Regions from separate parts of the Homo sapiens genome. Here region 1 is linked to region 2. The links are contacts of gene promoters, found by promoter capture Hi-C in blood cells and fetal thymus (Javierre and others, 2016). All regions are on one chromosome and are shown on one strand. The core of a region is centred on a gene start or on the middle of the fragment in contact, and the rest is flanking DNA. Distances in the headings are between cores, read along the strand shown. Region 1 has its middle 35 kb from the start of RNF6. Region 2 holds the start of LNX2 (ligand of numb-protein X 2).

Region 1 (5,362 bases), core at 1,855-4,354, 1.4 Mb after region 2:
CATCAAATTTGTGGAAAATGAATACAGTGATCTTTAAGGCTATTTTCCATATTTTCCAGATCTAAGAATCCAAAATGCTAAACTGTCAGAGTAGTGATTGGATTAGAGTCAGGAAAACAATTCCAACAGTAAGGGTTATTAAACACAGAAGTGGTTACAGCAAAATTGAGCAGAGAGTGTAAATAAATAAACAAACATGGAAGTGGTTTATTAAGCAGACTGTGAAATCTCTATCTCCAAGGAGCTTAAAAATGAGAGTGGATGAATGCTACCTGTCTCAAACTCAGTCTGAAGTTTCATCATCCAATGTGCTGAGGATGAAGCTAAATCACTTTCTACCCCTCTGGATTCTGTAAAAGGAAGCCTGAAGCAAAAACAGGCAGAGTTTCCTTAAGATTGGGGCAAACTGCCTTTAAATGAGAATAGTTTCCCTTCTGAAAGTTTTAGGAGTTTTCCATTTCCTCCTTGGCATGAAATATGAAATTTCGTATGAACACAGATATACATAAACAAAAAATGTAGCCATTGATAGGTTTATTCCAACTCACACTAAGCCTGTTATTTGATTTAGAGTAATTGAGGCAAGGTGGCATATTTTCATCCAACGATCTATTACAATAGGAAGCGTTTTTTTTGAGATGGAGTCTGGCTCTGTCGCCCAGGCTGCAGTGCAGTGGCATGACCTTGGCTCACTGCAACCTCCGCCTCCCGGGTTCAAGCGATTCTCCTGCCTCAGCCTTCCCAGTAGCTGGGACTACAGGTGCCCGCCACCACACCCAGCTAATTTTTGTATTTTAGTAGAGACATAGTTTCACCATGTTGGCCAGGCTGGTCTCAAACTCCTGACCTCAGGTGATCCACCTGCCTCGGCCTCCCAAAGTGCTGGGATTACGGGCGTTAGCCACCATCCCTGGCTACTAGGAATATTTTGATTCTATCTTACATTTAAGAAAGCTCCCTCTTACTTCATGGGAGTGTAAGCCTTTGAGTCTACAATAATCAGTTTGCATACAACCTCTTCAGAAATCTGTTCTGAGCCGGGCGCAGTGGCTCATGCTTGTAATCCCATCACTTTGGGAGGCCAAGGTGGGCAGATCACGAGGTCAAGAGATTGAGACCATCCTGGCCAACATGTTGAAACCTCATCTCTACTAAAAATACAAAAATTAACCGGGCATGGTGGCATGTGCCTGTAGTCCCAGCTACTTGGGAGGCTGAGGCAGGATAAGTGCTTGAACTGAAGAGGCAGAGGTTGCAGTGAGCCGAGATCATGCCACTCCAGCCTGGCAACAGAGTGAGACTTCATCTCAAAAAAAAAAAAAAAAAAAAAAAAAAAAAAGCTCTTTTGACTTGTCCAACTAAAGCCCCCACTAAAAGGGAGAGAACAGCTGCAGCTTTCACCTAAACTCCCCTCAGTCTTCACTTCTGTGTGTCACCTGCTTCTGGCTTATGCAGTGACTGGAATTTTTGGTTATATTTGTTTTGGAAAGTAAAATGTAAATTCAGCCAGACTCTTGATAATTCCAGTAGTTATTCAACAGTGATCAGTGCGTTTTGACTACAGATTCACTGGTCTCAAGAGTCAGTTGCCCTTCCTCTGTGCCACAATTAAGTCCTTGTCTATGTCTGTCACAAGTGGGGTGGAGGATGGGGTAGAAGGGGAGGGATATTGTTATAATTGCCTCCCTTGCCACCATCAGCACTTCTCACCTGTCCTTGTGAACCACCAGTTTACACTTATAGAATCTAGTTTTGCATCAGCAATTGAGGTCACTTCGCCTTGGAGCCACTGCATCAATCTGAAAGTCTCCATGAGCCACAAGACAGTTGTGATGGTCTGGATGGCAGCCTGCAAATGAGCAGTTACACTCTCTAGAATTCCTAGACTATTAGGGCTGAAGGGACCTTGGATATTAACAGGTTCAAGTCCATTTCACCCAGATGATGAAACTGATGCCCAGACACCTACAGAATCTTGTTTTAGATCACTTGTTGACTTCTAGTTCTATTTTTTGACACCTAGTGTCCAGTGTGCTTTACACTTCAGGCCACTGTGGTCTCAAATAGAGCTAGGAACCAGGTGTGGTGGCACACGCCTGTAGTCCCAGCTAGTTGGGAGGCTGAGGCAGGAGGACTGCTTAAGCCCAACAGTTCAAGGCTGCAGTGAGCTAAGATTGCACCACTGCACTCCATCCTGGGCAACAGATAGAGACTGTCTTAAAAAACCCCCAAAATCAAATAGAGCTGGGGCTAAACATTTAATAAACTCCAGCCTCTGGAGTCCAAGAGATCTGCATTTGAATCCTGACTTTGCCACTGATTGGCAATAAGACCTTGGGTACGTTACTTAACCATTAACATACCCACTAAGTCACCCAATAAGCTTCCAGAACTTGGCCTAATCCCTGGGGAGGGGACCGCAGGAAGAACTAGGGTAATTTTTCTTTTATAACCAGTTCACCAGAGGGGGCCAGGGAAGGGTGGTCGTATGTAGCCCAGAGGAGTCAGAAATTCACCTGAAATCCAGAAAAGAGGCATTTTTCTTGCACACCAGAGCTCACGGGCTGACATTCTCACACTGGACATCCCAGTAAGCCTCCTGCTCCGCGATCCCCAAGGCCATCAGCCTTGCCTGACCTCCAAACGTTTCCCCCTTCTTGTGCCGGCTTAATTTTCCAGGGCTTTCCCCCTTTCTATTCGTCTCCTATCAGGTTCCCGGTCCGAAGGCTAGGACGCCCCACGTCGCAGCCAGGAGCAGAGGCGCCCAAGGTGGCGGTACAAGCCGTCTTCAGGCCTGTGGCCCCACTGATGGCAGAAACAGGAAGCGGGGACAGCCCCAGTCCCGGACCTCAGGCCAAGCAAGGCTCTAGAAAGGTCCCTGACGCTTGCCGGGCGCGGTGGCTCATGCCTGTAATCTCAGCACTTTGGGAGGCCGAGGTGGGTGGATCACGAAGTCAGGAGATCGAGACCATCCTGGCTAACACGGTGAAACCCCGTCTCTACTAAAAATACACAAAATTAGCCGGGCGTGGTGGCGGGCGCCTGTAGTCCCAGCTACTCGGGAGGCTGAGGCAGGAGAATGGCGTGAACCTGGGAGGCGGAAATTGCAGTGAGCCGAGATCGCGCCACTACACTCCAGCCTGGGCGACAGAACGAGACTCCGTCTCAAAAAAAGAAAAAAAAAAAAAGAAGAAGAAAGGTCCCTGACGCTTCCCTGCCCTCCCCGGAGCCGGCGCTCTAGCGCCCCCGGGATCGACGGTCAGCACAGCGAAGGAACGCGCTACCTGTGGCCGAAGGTATAGCGCCGCTGCGGGCCCTGTGAGAGCTGAGAAGACGACGGCGGCCGAGGAGGCCCAATTCCGAGGCTCGGCCCCGTCAGGGTCCGCGCTGGCGGTGTGCGCGTGTACGTGCGCTCGTGCACGTGCATGTGTGTGCGCGCGCCCTAACAGACCTGCTCCGAAGCGTCTCCGCTGACTGCCAGTCGGTAGCGCGACTGGCTGCGGGGCCCACGTGCCACGCAGACGCCCCCCGGCGCGTCCCGCTCTTGCTCTGCGGCCCAACGAGCGCGTTCCTGCCGCGGGACAGCCTTGCAGAGAAACGCGGTCTTACACACGCACTGGCCTCCCGGTCTGGGTTTTTAACTGCTCAAAGCTCCACGCGCCCTGGCGTCTCCACACGGCACTCCAGATGTGTCAGATTTCCAGAAATGTTTTGATCGCTTGCTTTCACTTCTCTTTTTAAGATCTGTTTTTGAACTTTTCCTCTGCGTTGTGTGTATCATGACTCTGACACGTTTTAGGGCCGCGAGGCGGGTGATGAAGCTTTGACATGGGCGCCTTGGTGAATGACCTGAATTCTTACTCCCGAGTAAATCGTCTGACTGGCTTCCCTATCGCATTTTAGGGTTAAAACATACATTTTGTGTTTGTTTCATATCTATGTTTATGTAGACTGCAAGTTTCATAAGGGCACGGGGTGGGAGGGGCTATGGCTCTTTTGCCTCTTACTGTATTTTCAGAACCTAGCAGAAGCTAGGACATAGTGTGTGTTCTCTAAATAGATATTGAATGTGAGGGAGGAAGGAACTTTCCAGAAGTGTGACCTTTGGTTTTGGAAAGGCACAAGGTTCGTAGTTAGGCGTAGAGAACACAAGTTTAGAATCATGGCCTCTACACTTCTGTTGACAATGCATTACTTTAAGTAACAACTTTTTTTTGAGACAGGGTTTCGCTCGTTTTGCCCAGGCTGGAGTGCAGTGGCACGATCTCGGCTCACTGCAACCTCCGCCTCCCGGGTTCAAGCGATTCTCCTGCCTCAGCCTCCCAAGTAGCTGTGATAACAGGCGCCTGCCACCACGCCAGGCTAATTTTTTGTATTTTTAGTAGAGACGGGGTTTCACCATGTTGGCCAGGATAGTCTCGATCTCTTGACCTCGTGATCCGCCCACCTCGGCCTCCCAAAGTGCTGGGATTACAGGCGTGAGCCACTGTGCCCAGCCAAGTAACAACTTTTTTTAAAAAAAATGCACTTCAAATGTATATGTATATGTATTTATTTATAAGTTATAAAAATGTAATGCATGCTCATATATATATTTATGTATTATTACAAAGAGCACACCAAATAGAAATTTTAAAAAGCTAAAATAAAAATAATACCTTGGTCGGGGATGATGGCTCATGCCTGTAACTCCAGCACTTTTGGAGGCCGAGGCGGTCAGATAGCTTGAGCCCATTAGTTCGAGACCAGCGTGGGCAGCATAGTGAGATCCCATCTGTACAAAAAATAATTTGAAAAAATTAGCCGGGCATGGTGGTGTGCGCCTGTTGTCCCAGCTGCTTGGGAGGCTGAGGTGGGAGAATGGCTTGATCCTGGGAAGTTGAGGCTGCAATGAACCGTGTTTGTGCCACTTCACTACAGCTTGGGGTGGCTGAGTGAAATCCTGTCTTAATAGTCAATCAATCAATCAATCAATAAAATGATAACAATACCTACAAGTTCTAAAATAATTTCCTGCAGCGCACTTTGGAGCTCACTAGGTAGACAGTTTGTAGGGAGAGGGCTGCCCTCTACTGGTGGAGGGCAGCTAAGGACATTTGCTTTGGATCGCCTGCCTTCTGCAGGAGTCCACAGATTTATCCTTTGTGGCCTGCACAGTGTGTATGCTTAGCATTCAATCTACGTTATTTTCACTCATAGAAAATGTAAGGTGAGGCATTGTTTTAAGCCAGAACAGCTTTAAAAGGCAGAGATACTCGTATTGTGCAGTCATTATGGACCAGGAAACGTTGAAACATCTGCGAGTAGAAGTGACTCAAAACTGAATGTTCGTCTCTGTAACATCATGGCCAATACTCAATAA
Region 2 (5,141 bases), core at 1-2,500:
GCGGGGTGAGCGGTGGCTCGCGGCCCCGCGGCTCACCTGGGCGACCACGCGAGGCCACTCGCGGCGGGAGGGGCAGGGGGCGGGGCCAGCGCCGCCTTACCCCGAGGCCCAGACAGGCCTGCGGGCGCCCCGGCTCAACTCTGGTACCTTTCCCCAGGTGATGGCGAAGGGGCGCGGCCTTACCTGCCGCCCCCAAATCACTTCCCTTCCCAGTGGCAAGTCCGAAAGCGGCCCGACTTCCCAACTGGGGCGGTGTTGACCCAGGATGGCCCTTCCTGGGACCCCGGCCCTCCCGGGCCTTTTGTGGGACGACAGGCTTAAACTGTAGTCGGTCAACACACCTTGAAGAGGGAGGGGGGTCACGTGCGAGATGAGTCACCACAGAATACGAAGGTTGAAGGCGGTATTTGTTTCACCGGGGAGCTTGCAGTTGCATTTTCAACTGGGTCAAAATAGGGCAAGAAAGAAATGTCTCTTTTGGGGGAGTGAGAGTTTGGGAGAAAACTGTTTCCCACCTTATCCTTTCCGTCCTAGGATTCCTTCTACCCCCAGAGCGCGTCCTCTCCGGCTGTAGACTTCCTTTTCCCTTTCTCCCCAGTGGCTCCTCAAACCTCCTCACCTGCGGAACCCGCCCTCACCTTTGTTCCCAGGCGCCCAGCCCCCGCCTCGGCAACCTTTCGCCGCCCAGGCTCGCTCTCCATCCAGCTCCCTGCGTCCCGGCCTTCGCTGTGCTCCCTCAGGTGCGCTTCCTCTCGAATCGGCCCTTCTTGTCCCCTCGCCGCTGGCCCCGACCCTGCCCGACTCCAGCTGTCCAGCGCAACTACGTTTCTGCTTCCCTGCGCCACCTGTTCTCCTGGCCTCCCCCCACCCCGCCCCGCGATTCCTCTGGATGTTCACTCCTTCCCCAGCTGTGCCACTCTTGGCGGCGGCCGGGGGTGCGCGCAGACACCTAGCCAGCGGGGCTTCCGCAGGGGAATCAGGCGGGCGGCGGGGACAGCCCGGGGCGAGTGGGGGAGGCGGGCGGCGAGGGCGGAGTGGTCTCACTCTAACCCGGGAGTGACGGGTCCCTTCTGGCCCGCCTCCCGAGCTCTCGGATAGGTGGAGCCGCCCTCTGGTCCGCCCACCTCCCGCCCTGTGCTACCTCCGATTGGCCCGGGTGCGGGTTGGGCCGCTCGGCCTTGGCGCTGCCCCCGGGAAGGCAGCAGGGGCGGTTGAGAAGTGAAGTCTTGGCCGGAGTTTGCTTTTTGCCAGGAAATCCGCGGCGGCGGCGGCGGCGGCGGCGATTCCTGGCGGAGCGGAGCCGGGCAGGCTCTCCGCTCCCTCAGCGGGCCGCGGAGAGCGGGAGCTGGTGCCGAGCAGCGGCGCCAGGAGCCCGTGCGCGGCCCGGGCAGCCGCGCTTTCCCAGTGAGTAACTTTGCCCTGCCCGCCTCGCTGCGCGCCCTCTCGCTGGCTGCGGGCAGCCGCCTCAGGTGCGGGCGTCAGCTGGGTGTGGGTCAGCGCCGCGCCCCGGGAGGCGGCCGGAGCGGCGCCACAGCTCGCCCCGGAGCCTTGGTCCTTCGCGGCTGTCTTCGCTCGCCCGGGCTGCGGGGCTGGCGTGGACTCGGGTGTGGGTCTGGTCCAGGAGGGAGAGTCGGCGCCCGGTGCCCGCCGCCTGCAGGCGCCCGGGAGGCGGGCGGCCTCCGGCTGTTAGCGTTTGCTGGTTCCGGCCACCGTGGTGCAGAGCTTGGCGTCGTTTGCTTCTTAAGGGAAGGGAGAGGTGGGGTGAGTGTTTAAATTTCCTCTGTGTGTGTGTGGTGTCGGCAATGAGAGTGGCACTAGCTGCCTTTATCGGGTTTTGTTCTCTGGAAAGGGATGGGGAGAGATCATTCCCTCCGCCCCAGCCTGTTGCCTGTGAATTCTCACCTTTCTCTTTAGGCTGGAGAGGGTGGGAGAGAGATTTGACATCTTCCAGGGGGTAATTTAAAAATATGAATCTTGATTTGGAAGCAGTTGCACACAAAGCATCATTCAGGAAATACATCACTCGCTTTTCAAAGCTGTATGCCACGTTTTAAACAAGGACTTTTGACTCATGTAGTGTTTCTTTTAGTATTTCAGTTTACGTTAAGTTTATGAATCCAGACGTTCGTTTGTACCAGGAGCTAAAGTACACTTATGCATGGGCTTTGCTGTGTATATTATGCTTTTTAAAATCACAGAAATCAGAAACAAAGTTGAGTGAAAAGCGGTGGCGGTGCAGGAGGAGGAACACTTGTGAGCTCCAGCTTATTGGAACTGCCTTTAAGAATTTCACATTCTTGCGGCAATAGTACTTACTTGTAAATTGGCCTTCTTCCCAGGACAGGTTTTGATATTTCTTTTGCATGTACTTCGATGCAGCACTAATGAAGTTGGATCTCAGTAGATCAATTTTATTTACTTTGCTAGATTTGATTCCCACCCCCACACCTCTTTAGAAAATGGACTTTGGCAGGTAAAGAAGGAAGCGGGAATCTGGTATCCTTTTTGGCTTGTCAAAGCTTTGTTGAGCCATGAATAACAAAGTTTTGGCTTTTTAGCTTGTCCGAGTCCCACATGTGAGTTTTCCCATGGGGTAAAAGTAGGCCAAATGAGAACCAAAGTAGAATAACATCACTTTTAATTCGGCCCACTTGTGTGTTACATTCTCCATATATCTTGTTTCTCTCATCAACTTTGAAATTTTTTCATTATTTATTCATTTAGCCACTGATAAAGTACCTACTGCATGCCAGCCATTGATGGCGGGGGTTGCTTCTTGCCCAGTTTTCTCATTTGGAAACTGATCCATGCCTTTATCCCACTAGTTACCCTGAAGTAATTTGAACTTAGGGAGCATTTCTGCCTGGAGACCTGTAAGAATAGGTGTTACGTAGGCACTTAGTCTTCAGATTGGTTTGGGATTTCGTACATTGTAGGCACGTAGCACGCAGGCCACTTAAAAATAAATGTATGTGTCTTTGGGCTGTTGTATTACGAGCTTTGCATATGGGCTTGTCTGGCCGAAGGACCCAGTGTCCGAGGTGGAGGTAGTAGTCAGGGACATGTATTATTCATTTCAGAACACTTGGCACCTTTTCTTGCTTACATTGGGCACTAAAATATTTACTGAATTGACTTGAACAGAAAAATGAAGGATTTTTTATACCAGATTAAGAAATTTGGACTTTATCCAGTCAGTGATACTGAGCTGCTAATTTTAAGCAGGAGAATGTCATGATAACGGGTAAGCATTCCAGAAAGATATCTGCAGCGTCTGGAGGATGGTGGGCTTCCAGATGGGCGATATGGAGACTAAGTTGGAGGCTGTTCTAATGGAGGGGTTAAGTGCTCAGGGATTCTCTATTCAGATTACCTGGGGTGGAATCAGGCTCTGTCATACACTGAAACCTCTTTGTTCCTTAGGTTTGTCATCTCAGAGTTTGGGGGATAGAACTTGAAAAAACATGTCTATTACTTAGAATAGTGATTGCCAGATAGTAAGGACTTAGTAAATGCTAGTGTGCTGGCAGTGGAAGGAGAAATGACGTGGTGTTTAAGAGGTATGACTAGGAGGCTGGACTAGGTAAGTGACTGGGTAGGCTTAAGGAGGGAAGGATGAATCCTGGGTTGTTTGACTTCAGGCATTGATTGACATGTACTGGGTAAGCTGGCTGTGAAATTAAAACGGGTCAAATTCTAATTCTATTACTTACCCTTAGAATAACTATCCTGACAGAACTTTGATTTCCTAACATTTGGGAAATGATTGTCGTACCTGTTGAGTAGGGTTTGAGGAATTATGCATGTAATGCCTTTGGCAGGGTACCTAGCACATTCCAAGTGCTCAGTAAATATTAGTTGTTCCTTTAGATGATGACATTAATGAGCTAGTGGAATGTTGGAGGATATGAGAAGGAGCAGTTAAAAACAATTGATGGTAGAGGTGTAGAAGGGAAGATAAGTTCAGTTTTGGACTAATCTAAGGAGGTGCTAAATGGATGGTTGAGAGATCCATGATGCAGTTGTTGGATAGTTGTGTCTCACAGGAGCTAGGAAAGAATAGAAAAGAAAAAGAGTTCACAGAAAGGCTTTATGAGTATGGTAAGCTTTATGAGAGATTTAGAGGAAGGGGAGGGTGAAGGGGTTCACAGTGGAGCGATATCAGAAGTGTTGACATTGAATATTAGGCATTTCTATCCTTAAAATATATTTTGGCCACCATCAAAGAAAGGAGGACTCCAGGCTCTTGTAATCTGGTTGGCTCTTTGGCCTTCTTCCCCTCTTCTTTCTTTCCTTTACAATTGCCACCCGATATCTTTAAATTGTATTATGAGGAACTATTTAACTTTCCTTCCTGCTTACAGGGCTAGAGTTCACAGGCCCACCTTCCTCTATCCAAATGCATCTAGGTTTTTAAAAAAGAATCACAGGTCTCATTTCATAGGTTCTCCTCTATTTAGGAAGCAGTGTTGTTTGAAAAAGTAATACATATGTATCTTGCATGTAGAATTAGAAGACTGGGGCAGGCCTACCTAAATTGACCCTGTAGGAGGGCCTGAGAGTCTTACAAAAGACATCCCTTTTAGCTTTCCTGGCACCTGTTTCTTTTCCTCAGAAAATACAAAGCAGTAGGAAAATCTGTGGTTAATAAGTTATTTTGTTTGGTTGGATTCAGAAAAGGTGGCTATTTTGTGTATTAGCCTTCTAAGAAGTTATTAAGAGGAATTTTTTGGCCAGGTGCAGTGACTCACGCTTATAATTCTAGCACTTTGGGAGGCTGAGGCGGGCGATCACGAGGTCAGGAGTTCAAGACCAGCCTGGCCAACACAGTGAAACCCTGTCTCTACTAAAAATACGAAAATTAGCTGGGCGTGGTGGCAGGTGCCTGTAATCCCAGCTACTCAGGAGGCTGAGGCAGGAGAAATCGCTTGAACCCGGGAGCTAGAGGTTTCAGTGAGCTGAGATTGCGCCACTGCGCTCCAGCCTGGGTGATAGAGCTAGACTCCATCTCAAAAAAGGAATTTTTTAACAAGCAAGTGCTCATGACATTACAATAATAAATTGTCCTCTAGTTAGTATGCTTTTAAAGAAGCAGGTGTTGTAGGTTCTATCCTTTAGAATGTGTGCTTCCTAGAGCTGGG

The links. The method cuts DNA at HindIII sites, captures the fragments that hold promoters and counts their contacts. A CHiCAGO score of 5 or more calls a contact.
Region 1: a fragment that was not itself captured here is called in contact with the fragment with the promoter of LNX2 in region 2 in 1 of 17 cell types (activated CD4 T cells); the score reaches 9.4 in activated CD4 T cells.

Annotation. Positions count from the first base shown.
Region 1 is chr13:26,184,601-26,189,962 of GRCh38, reverse strand. It overlaps a transcript of RNF6 not described here. Among named protein-coding and RNA genes, the nearest start is that of RNF6, 35 kb to the left of the region's middle. RefSeq lists enhancers at 3,549-3,598, 3,649-3,818. The HindIII fragment of the contact is 1,438 bases long and covers 2,386-3,823 here.
Region 2 is chr13:27,616,638-27,621,778 of GRCh38, reverse strand. It overlaps LNX2 (ligand of numb-protein X 2), which reads left to right and starts at 1,250. Exons shown (of 10, transcript NM_153371.4): 1 at 1,250-1,404. It also overlaps a transcript of POLR1D not described here. RefSeq lists silencers at 1-190, 811-1,700 and an enhancer at 494-1,222. The HindIII fragment of the contact is 4,924 bases long and covers 1-2,521 here.